Regions from separate parts of the Homo sapiens genome. Here region 2 is linked to region 1. Evidence: promoter capture Hi-C in 16 types of primary human blood cells and fetal thymus (Javierre and others, 2016). All regions are on one chromosome and are shown on one strand. Each heading gives the region's core, a stretch centred on a gene start or on the middle of the fragment in contact. The rest is flanking DNA. Distances are from core to core; before and after follow the strand shown. Region 1 holds the start of IDE (insulin degrading enzyme). Region 2 overlaps IDE (insulin degrading enzyme).

Evidence for each region. Contacts are between HindIII fragments. The CHiCAGO score rates a contact against its expected background, and 5 or more counts as called.
Region 2: a fragment that was not itself captured here is called in contact with the fragment with the promoter of IDE in region 1 in 1 of 17 cell types (erythroblasts); the score reaches 6.1 in erythroblasts.

What each region holds. Positions count from the first base shown.
Region 1 is chr10:92,571,562-92,575,872 of GRCh38, reverse strand. IDE (insulin degrading enzyme) reads left to right here and starts at 1,780. Exons shown (of 25, transcript NM_004969.4): 1 at 1,780-1,951. The coding sequence starts at 1,854. RefSeq lists enhancers at 1,121-1,360, 1,371-1,430 and a silencer at 1,931-2,380. The HindIII fragment of the contact is 22,211 bases long and covers 1-3,146 here.
Region 2 is chr10:92,503,006-92,507,164 of GRCh38, reverse strand. It overlaps IDE (insulin degrading enzyme), which reads left to right. Exons shown (of 25, transcript NM_004969.4): 10 at 643-723; 11 at 2,268-2,371. Among named protein-coding and RNA genes, the nearest start is that of IDE, 69 kb to the left of the region's middle. The HindIII fragment of the contact is 1,686 bases long and covers 836-2,521 here.

The sequences.
Region 1 (4,311 bases), core at 531-3,030:
TTGTAGAGGGAAAGCCAGTTGTTGTCTGGAAGCATTTTTTTTTTTTTTGAGACATAGAGTCTCATTTTGTTGCCCAGGCTGGAGTGCAGTGGCGTGATCTTGGCTCACTGCAACCTCCGCCTCCAGGGTTCAAGTGATTCTCCTGCCTCAGCCTCCTCAGTAGCTGGGATTACAGACGCATGCCACCACGCCTGGCTAATTTTTGTATTTTTAGTAGACACGGGGTTTCACCATTTTGGTCAGGCTGGTCTCGAACTCCTGATCTCGTTATCCGCCCGGCTTGGCCTCCCAAAGTGCTGGGATTACAGGCATGAGCCACCACGCCCGGCCATCTGGAAGCATTTTTATGTAAGCATTTCTAATAAGTAGCCTAAAGAGATCTCAGGAAAAAAAAGGGTACTAATCTCCAAGTCTCGAGTATTTGTTGTGATGTATTTTCTCTCTATAGTAATCTTCTGATTGCTAATTTTGTATTTATAATTTGTATTTTATGTCTCAAAGAGGTCCCCCAAATTGTATATGTTTCAAGCCCTCCAAGTCTGAATCTACCCCAGCCCATTTATAGATTCCATTAATGGAGCATAAATGTATTCAGAAAGGCTGCATTAACACTCTCAGAGGAGCTGCTTCAAGGTGATTGACTACTCTGCATTGGGACTGGTAATTTAAAGGTTCTTAAAACCATGCACTTGCAAACACCACTAGGAGGCTTGCCATAATTTTTACCTGTTTTCATCCAAAGGTTTGCCTTTAGGTGAAACCGCACTGTTAAAAAGATCGTGGGTACGTCTTCGATAAAGCATCAACTTGATTAAGGAACCCTCCTACTGAATTCCCATTTAAAGCAATACTTGGACTAAGGACACCGTTTTTGGCTGCAGTCTTGATCGTCTGTCAATCAGAAACCTAAAAGTACTTAAGCTGGCAAGTCACCATCCCTAATAGCATTCTTCCTTAAAGACTCCCATAAGGTATTATGGAAAGTTAGATTCATAACAACTATTAAGTTGTTCGTGGGTGCAAAGCCCCATAAAGCCACTGGGGAGAAAATTCTTTGTTTAAAAAGTAACCACTGAAGCCGACTGACATTAGTAGTATTCCTAGTACGGAGTACTAACAAGAGTAGTAGTTTCTACTCTGGATTTGAAGCCTTGTTTTGCTGCGGCGCCCGTCCCATCCGCACCTTCCTCTTAAGAGAGCTGCTAACTTCCCCAAGGATGGAAACGTCCCCCTGGGTCCTGGCCTCTCTATCGCTGACCCCTGCGTCTGAATTTCCCCCACGCCGCACTCGAGCCTTGTCTCCAGCGCATCTGTGCCTTCGCGGTCCACGTCCCCACCGCGCTCTAGAGGGAGCCCGCGGGCCGCGCGCCGGCCGCGGATTCATTTTACGTGAGGCCGCCGCGACCACGAACCTTGTTCCAACACCTGCAGGGTCCGGCACGCTAGTCAGTGGGGGTGCCTCAGAAAACATAGCCCCGTGTGCCCTCACTGGATTTATGAGCGGCCCCTCGCCCCCTCACAGTCAGACACACGTCGCCACCCTCACAAGTGCGGCCGGTGGGATCTAGCTGGGACCCTCCCCGCCTGGGAAAGTCTGGGTGCTGGCTCCTAAAGCGCCCCGGCCAAACCCCTGTCCCTCCAGTCCGCCTGCTCAGGCCTCGGCTGTCCGCGGTCTTCACCGTCCTCGCCTGCGTCCTGGCCCCATCCGGCTCCAGGCAAAACCCGGAGCAGCTACCTCTCCGCAGCTCCCGGGAGACCGCGCGGCGCCGCGGCTAGAGCATGCGCAGTGCGCAGGGCCGGCTCGAAGCGCAAGCAGGAAGCGTTTGCGGTGATCCCGGCGACTGCGCTGGCTAATGCGGTACCGGCTAGCGTGGCTTCTGCACCCCGCACTGCCCAGCACCTTCCGCTCAGTCCTCGGCGCCCGCCTGCCGCCTCCGGAGCGCCTGTGTGGGTAAGCGGAATGGAGCGCCCGGGCCCTCGGGCCCCGTGGGTCACAGCGGTTTGGCGCTCGGGTTGCAAAGTGGTGATTCAGCACTTAAAGCCGCCACCGCTGCCCCTCACGCCGCCCGTCCCGCCGGCCTGGGGCCCGTACTGCCGCGCTGAGGCCGCCCCAGGGCCCGGAAGAGCGGCTCGCCAGGCGGGAGCCAGAGGCCTGGTCCAGAGTCGGGGACGTCCCTTGGGCTGGTGAGGGGCCGGGGCCGCTACCCGGGGCCACGGGGCGTGTGCCACTAGTGCGGGGGGCGCAGGGGCGGACAGAGTCACCCGGCCTGCACCTGGGAGCCGCGCCGCGTCACTCTCCCGGAGTCCGCCTGTGAGGGGGCCGGGAACCTGAGGCGGACTCGAGCCGTGGGGTAAAGGAATCCGGCGACTTCGGGGGGACCGCTTCTCACCTTGCCCTCAGCCCTGCCCTTTTCTCCGGGCACTGAGTTTCCAGGACCGTGTGGAATGCCCGCGCTGGGAAAAAAGTTTGCCTGCCTCCCGCCTTGGAAGACGAGTGTGGGGTTTCCTATCGGGGGACATTTAGGAGCCAAAAGATACCTCGGGATCCTCTACAGCAGCTCCCTTGTTTTACGTCGGAGACAACCGGAGCTCCGAGAGATGGCTTGATTTCCCAGCAACTGCCGAGATTGTGGCAAAACCAGGATTAGGACACAGGTTTTTTGCCATCCGGCGGCGTGCCCTCTCCACTGCACCGTTGATCTGCGTACGCTAGGCGTTTTCAGGCTTGTAGTGAACGCTGAATACTTTTTACTACGAATGGAAGAAGATAGGCAGTATTATCTTGCCCTCCCTAGAAACGTTATTTGAACCCCTGCTGGTTTTAATCAGTAATAGCCAGCACCTACTAAGTGCAGGGCACTGTGCTGGACCCTCTATGTAAAGTATGTGTCTGCCTTCCAAGGAACTTTGACTTGATTGGAGCGGATTGGGATGCCACGGGAATTGAGATAGCTACAAGGGTGTGTTGATGAGGGTCAGAAGATGGGTAGTATGGGTAGTGTGTGGGGCCAGAGATGGGGGGGTAGGCTGGCTTTGGAAGGAATGGCAGAAAGGTTGGAGTGAGGGCTGGCGTGGGCGTAATCCAGCCTAGATATGCGGGCAGTTTGTGTTGGGGGAGCAGTGAGCCGATTAGTCTGGTTGAAGCTTTATAGAATTTCCTTGGGGTAATTAGAAGGACACAAGTCCTGTATTATAACAGTAGGGTAATGCTGGCCTGGGTCTTGAATTTTAGTTGGGATTTTCCCAATGCGTAGTAGGTAGGGAGCCATTAAAGTTTTTGAGCTGGAAAGTTATCTGATGGAACTGGGGGTTTAGGAAAGTAGTTTGGTGGCTGTGTGCAGGATGTCAGGAAGTGGAGAGAGTCCTAAGGCAGAGAAACCTGTTGGGACTTAGTCTTTACTGCCTGTATTAGGATGGTAGCAGTGGGGCACTAAGATAAGCTAATACAAATGAAGACTCTATGGAACTTGTTCTCCTCTGTTTTCCACTACATCACAAAATCTCCTATAATGTGCAAAAGACCCCTGAACTTAGAGAATCAGGTGGTAAGCACAGGCAGGATGCCTCCTTTTGTCCTCTTTTGTGTCAGTCTGCTTTTGTTCTAAATTCATTACTGATAGGCTAGGCTTAGCTGTCTCCATACTGTCTCCAGCATATAGCATTTGTGATTTTTAAAGAAAGCACCAATTTTAAGTTTTGTATAACTAAGTGGTTTGTATGTTCTAGTTAAAATTACATTTTCTCTGTAGTTATAAAGTCCGGTCGACCATCCAGAGTTTTAAGATATGTTTTTCTCAAAGATGGAAATTTGAGAGATTCAAAGCATAATGAATGAGATGAGCCAGCTAGAAAGCTCTACCCTAAAATCAGTGAGTGAGGCTTTTGAGGAAAATACAGGTCCAACCAAAGGGATTAGGGCATAGTTTTAGGAAGGAAAGCACTAACATCTGAAGCTACCACATATTCTCATCTTAAGGAATGCAATCAGCCCTACTGTACATAGTCGGAAGAATGTCTTAACAGAGATAGCCACACAGCTATTTGCTGGAAGAGCTGGGATTTAACCCATGTCTATCTGGCATCGGAGCCTGAGCTCTTAACTGTTATGTATTTGCAAACACAAGTACTGCCTCTGCTGGTATTTGGGCATTCATTTTCTGGTCTAACCTCTTGAGACAGAGATGGTCTTAAAGCATTTATGTAAGATCAATCCATTTACAGAGTAACCTCCTTGTTCTGTGTTCAGCTGTATTTTATAACTTGGGACTGTGTGGAATTATCTGAACTACTGGGGCACCTGGAGATAATAGC
Region 2 (4,159 bases), core at 429-2,928, 69 kb after region 1:
GTTATTAAAAGTGATTTTATTATTGTATGTATGGGAAGAGGCTGGCTTTTTTTTTTGCGTAAAACAAATGGTGTTTGTCTTTCAAATTTTTAAAAGCCTTTTAAAAAAGGGTTTTTAAAAATACGTGCTTTAAAGCCTATCGAGATTCTCAAATGTATTTTAGTATGAGAAACATCCTTTTTAACTAGATAAAAGTTTAAAGGTATAATCTCTGCTTCTGAAAATTATGACAATAACTCCTAATCTGGGTGCTGTTCTCTGAATGAGTCACCAAAATCATCTATGGTGGAATTGTTGGATCTCACAAGGTTCTTTCACACAGTTTTTCTAAATTCTTTGGCTATTAGTTTCAACAACTTAGGCTATCGAGCCATATCCTGTATTTGTTATTTTCATTGAAAGTTGTTTACCTATTTTGCTTTTGGTTTTAAGCCTAGATTGATGGATTAAATTTTATACACATTAAGAAATTTTTAAAATATTCTATACATTTCTAAATCAAGCATAGCCATTTTTTCAGAAAGTGTGATAAAGTTAAATATGGAGTAGAAAGCTTATAGTGCAAGCCAAACACTTAAAAAAAAAAAAAAAGGTTTCTAAATAAGGGTGGCCGTATCTAATTGGATTAACTTTCTATTTTAGGACTTGAATGCTGTTGCTTTTAGGTTTAAAGACAAAGAGAGGCCACGGGGCTATACATCTAAGATTGCAGGAATATTGCATGTAAGTTTGTTGTTATTTTACTGTATACATTGCTGTGTGGAGTATTTCAGCAATCTTGCATATATTTTCAGTAATAAGTGAATGATTACAATTGAAGCTGAGGTATAAAGCTTTCAACTTTGTAGCAACAGGGCAAATGTTGATGTCAGGAGATGTTTAAAATCTTAATTTTCATCATCGTGAAATTTATTTTATGTAATATTTTTATTAAATATGCATTTTGCTTATTGGCTTTAAATATATTTCAGTTCTACAGCATATCAGGTGTTACTTATATGAAAGCTATTGATCATTTACTTTTTTAAAATTTCCATTGCTACCATCCTAGTCTGAGCTATCATCATTTCTTGCTTGGGCTACCATGATAGTCTTTTACCTGCGATCCCTATTTTCCTCTTGGTCCCCATTGTAGTTTATTTTTCCAGGCTCGTGATCTTTTGAAAACTAAAATCTGAATGTTTCACTCCTCTGTTTAAATTCCTTCAGTGGTTTCCCAACAGAGTTGGCATAAAATGCAAAATTTTCCTTGGCCTACAAGGTGATGTGGCCCCAGCCTATCTGGCCATCTTCTATACCACTGTCCAGCCCACCTCTCCCATTTGCATTCCACTCCAACTGTACTGGCTCTCTAATTTTCAAGCATTAAGTTTATTCCTCCCCCATTGCTATTTTCTCTACATGAAACACTGTTCTATCTGATCTTTGCCTGGCTAGGTTCTTATCATTTCAGTCTCCACTCAGAGTTCTTCTCCTCAGACCTTCTCTGACCTCCCAATCTAAAATAATGCCCCTGCCCCTTTTTTTATTGTTTTCATAGCATCTCTCACTAACATTACAATATTTGTTTGTTGTCTGCCTCCCTCCCAATTACAATGTCTGTGTGCTTCTTGGAGGACAAAGGATTTCATGTGTCTTACCTACTTTTGTATCCATAGTGTGTGGAACAGTGTCTGGCACATAGTAGATGTTCATTAAATATTTATTAGATGAATGAATCAGTCAGTGTGTCTCAGTATATTGGAAGTTGCTCTTACCAAAAAGCATCTTCTGCATTGTTTTTCTACACTGGCCAAAAATATAAGCCATTTTTTTTTCCACAGCCGCTTCCTAAATGTTTGTCTAATTTGTTTCATAGAAATTTAGGAGGAAATTCTGTTCATAAAAATGTGTGTACTTTATATTTTAAAAATCCTGTAGGTGTCAGCATTTTAATATCGAATTTTCTTCATTAACAAGTACTCAGTTTTTAACCAGAAACATTCGTGGTTTTCCCCGAAAGAAATGTGATTTTGCTCTCTACAATGGAAGTATGTTTGGGGATTAACAGTATATTTGGCAGAATCATCAAACAATATGAAACTGCTTAACAATGTGGTAGGAAAGAGACAACGATTTAGGGCTACAGAAAATTTTTCCAATGGAGTAAAATTTAACTGAAGAGAGAAAGGGTGTACAGTAATGAATTTAATGTGTTACAGATCTGCTTTAATAAACTATGTAGTAGCTTTGTATATTTTATTTATTTATATTTTCCTTTTTAAAAGTATTATCCCCTAGAAGAGGTGCTCACAGCGGAATATTTACTGGAAGAATTTAGACCTGACTTAATAGAGATGGTTCTCGATAAACTCAGACCAGAAAATGTCCGGTGAGTCACCATACAGATTTTACTATTATACACTAAATTTTCAATAATGATTAGAATCTGAAAAAATTTGAAATTGTGAATAAAATGCTTTTAAACATTTTATCAAGCATTACAAAAGTAGAGAATAGTATAATGAAGCAACACCAAGCTTCAACCATTGATACATGGCCAGTCTTTTTTAATCTATACCCATCCCTCTTCAGTCATCCCCCTTCCACCCTAAATTATTTTGAGGCAATATCTCTAAAAGATGAGGACATTTTTAAAAACAAATATAATTTTATTATCATAAATAAAATAGAATAATAACCTGTCTTAACCTGGCTTTATTCTAACTCAAACGCCCAAAGTATCAGCCCACCTATCTGACTCATATAAGCAAATGAAGGCACCCTCTTTTTCTTAAGCCACAGTAAAGATTACAATCTCAGAATCCTCCTGATTGACCAGTGGTTAACCTGGAAATCAAAAGTCCAAACTCTTATAGTAGCAGAGGTATTCTTGCTAGAGGAAAGTAGTCCTTAAAGTGCTTGTGAGCCACCACATGATATTCCTCCCATAAAACTGAATTTCATCTATGTTTTCTAAAGTCAAATGATAGAGGGAATATAATTGAATGACATGTTTTACATTTTTAATTTTTCTCCTCTGTTAGGGAAGTATTTTTGAAATTCTACTGGCAATTTGGTTATTGAGTAAGTTTTTTGGAACAGTTGTTTTATGAATAAGATCAACAATGTGATAGAACTTTTTGTAAAAAAAAAAAAATCTTTTTGGGCTGGGCGCGGTGGCTCCTGCCTGTAATCCCAGCACTTTGGGAGGCCAGGGCGGGCGGATCAGCTGAGGTCGGGAGTTCGAGACCAGCCTGACCAACATGGAGAAACCCCGTCTCTAATAAAAATACAAAATTAGCCAGGCATGGTGGCATGCATCTGTAATCCCAGCTACTCGGGAGGCTGCAACAGGAGAATCGCTTGAACCCAGGAGGTGGAGGTTGCTGTGAGCCGAGATCATGGCATTGCACTCCAGCCTAGGCAACAAGAGTGAAACTCCGTCTCAAAAAAAAAAAAAAAAGTCTTTTTGACAGAACTATCCTATCAGAATCTTTTCCTAGTTACCATTGTTTGAACTTTTCCAGACATATTATCAAAGCTTCATTAGCGATAATTGCATATATATGACTTGCACTATACTGTTTAGGTTGAGAACAATAATTAATGTCTTCTAATGTTCAGGTGGGCTTGGCCTATCTATTGTCACTCCTAGGTGGTTGGTGGACTCGGGTGACTTTCTTCTAGGAAATACTATTAGCCAGATTTTACCTGACCTCATGCTAGGATTCAGCTAAATATTCTATTTTTTGGGAAGCCAAGGCAGAGGAGGATCACTTGAGACTAGGAGTTTAAGACCAGCCTGAGCAGCATAGTGACACCCTATCTGTATTTAAAAAGTTTTAATGATTTTTTTATATTATGATACAGTGTTTGGATGAGTACAGATAATTATCTAGCTTCAAGAACAATTTTTTATAGAGATAGGGTCTCACTGTGTTGCCCAGGTGGATCTCAAACTCCTGGCCTCAAGCAGTCCGGCTTAGCCCCACAAAGTGCTGGGATTACAGCCGTCGTGAGCCACTGTGCCCAGTCTAGAATTTTCTTTTCTTTTTTCTTACTGAGCCTAGAATTTTTAAATTGGAATAAGATACCATGGTTTTGAGGTTTAAAAAATATATTAAGGGTCAAAATTTAGAAGTCTTTTTCAATGAAAATAACATGTGAAATTATTTAG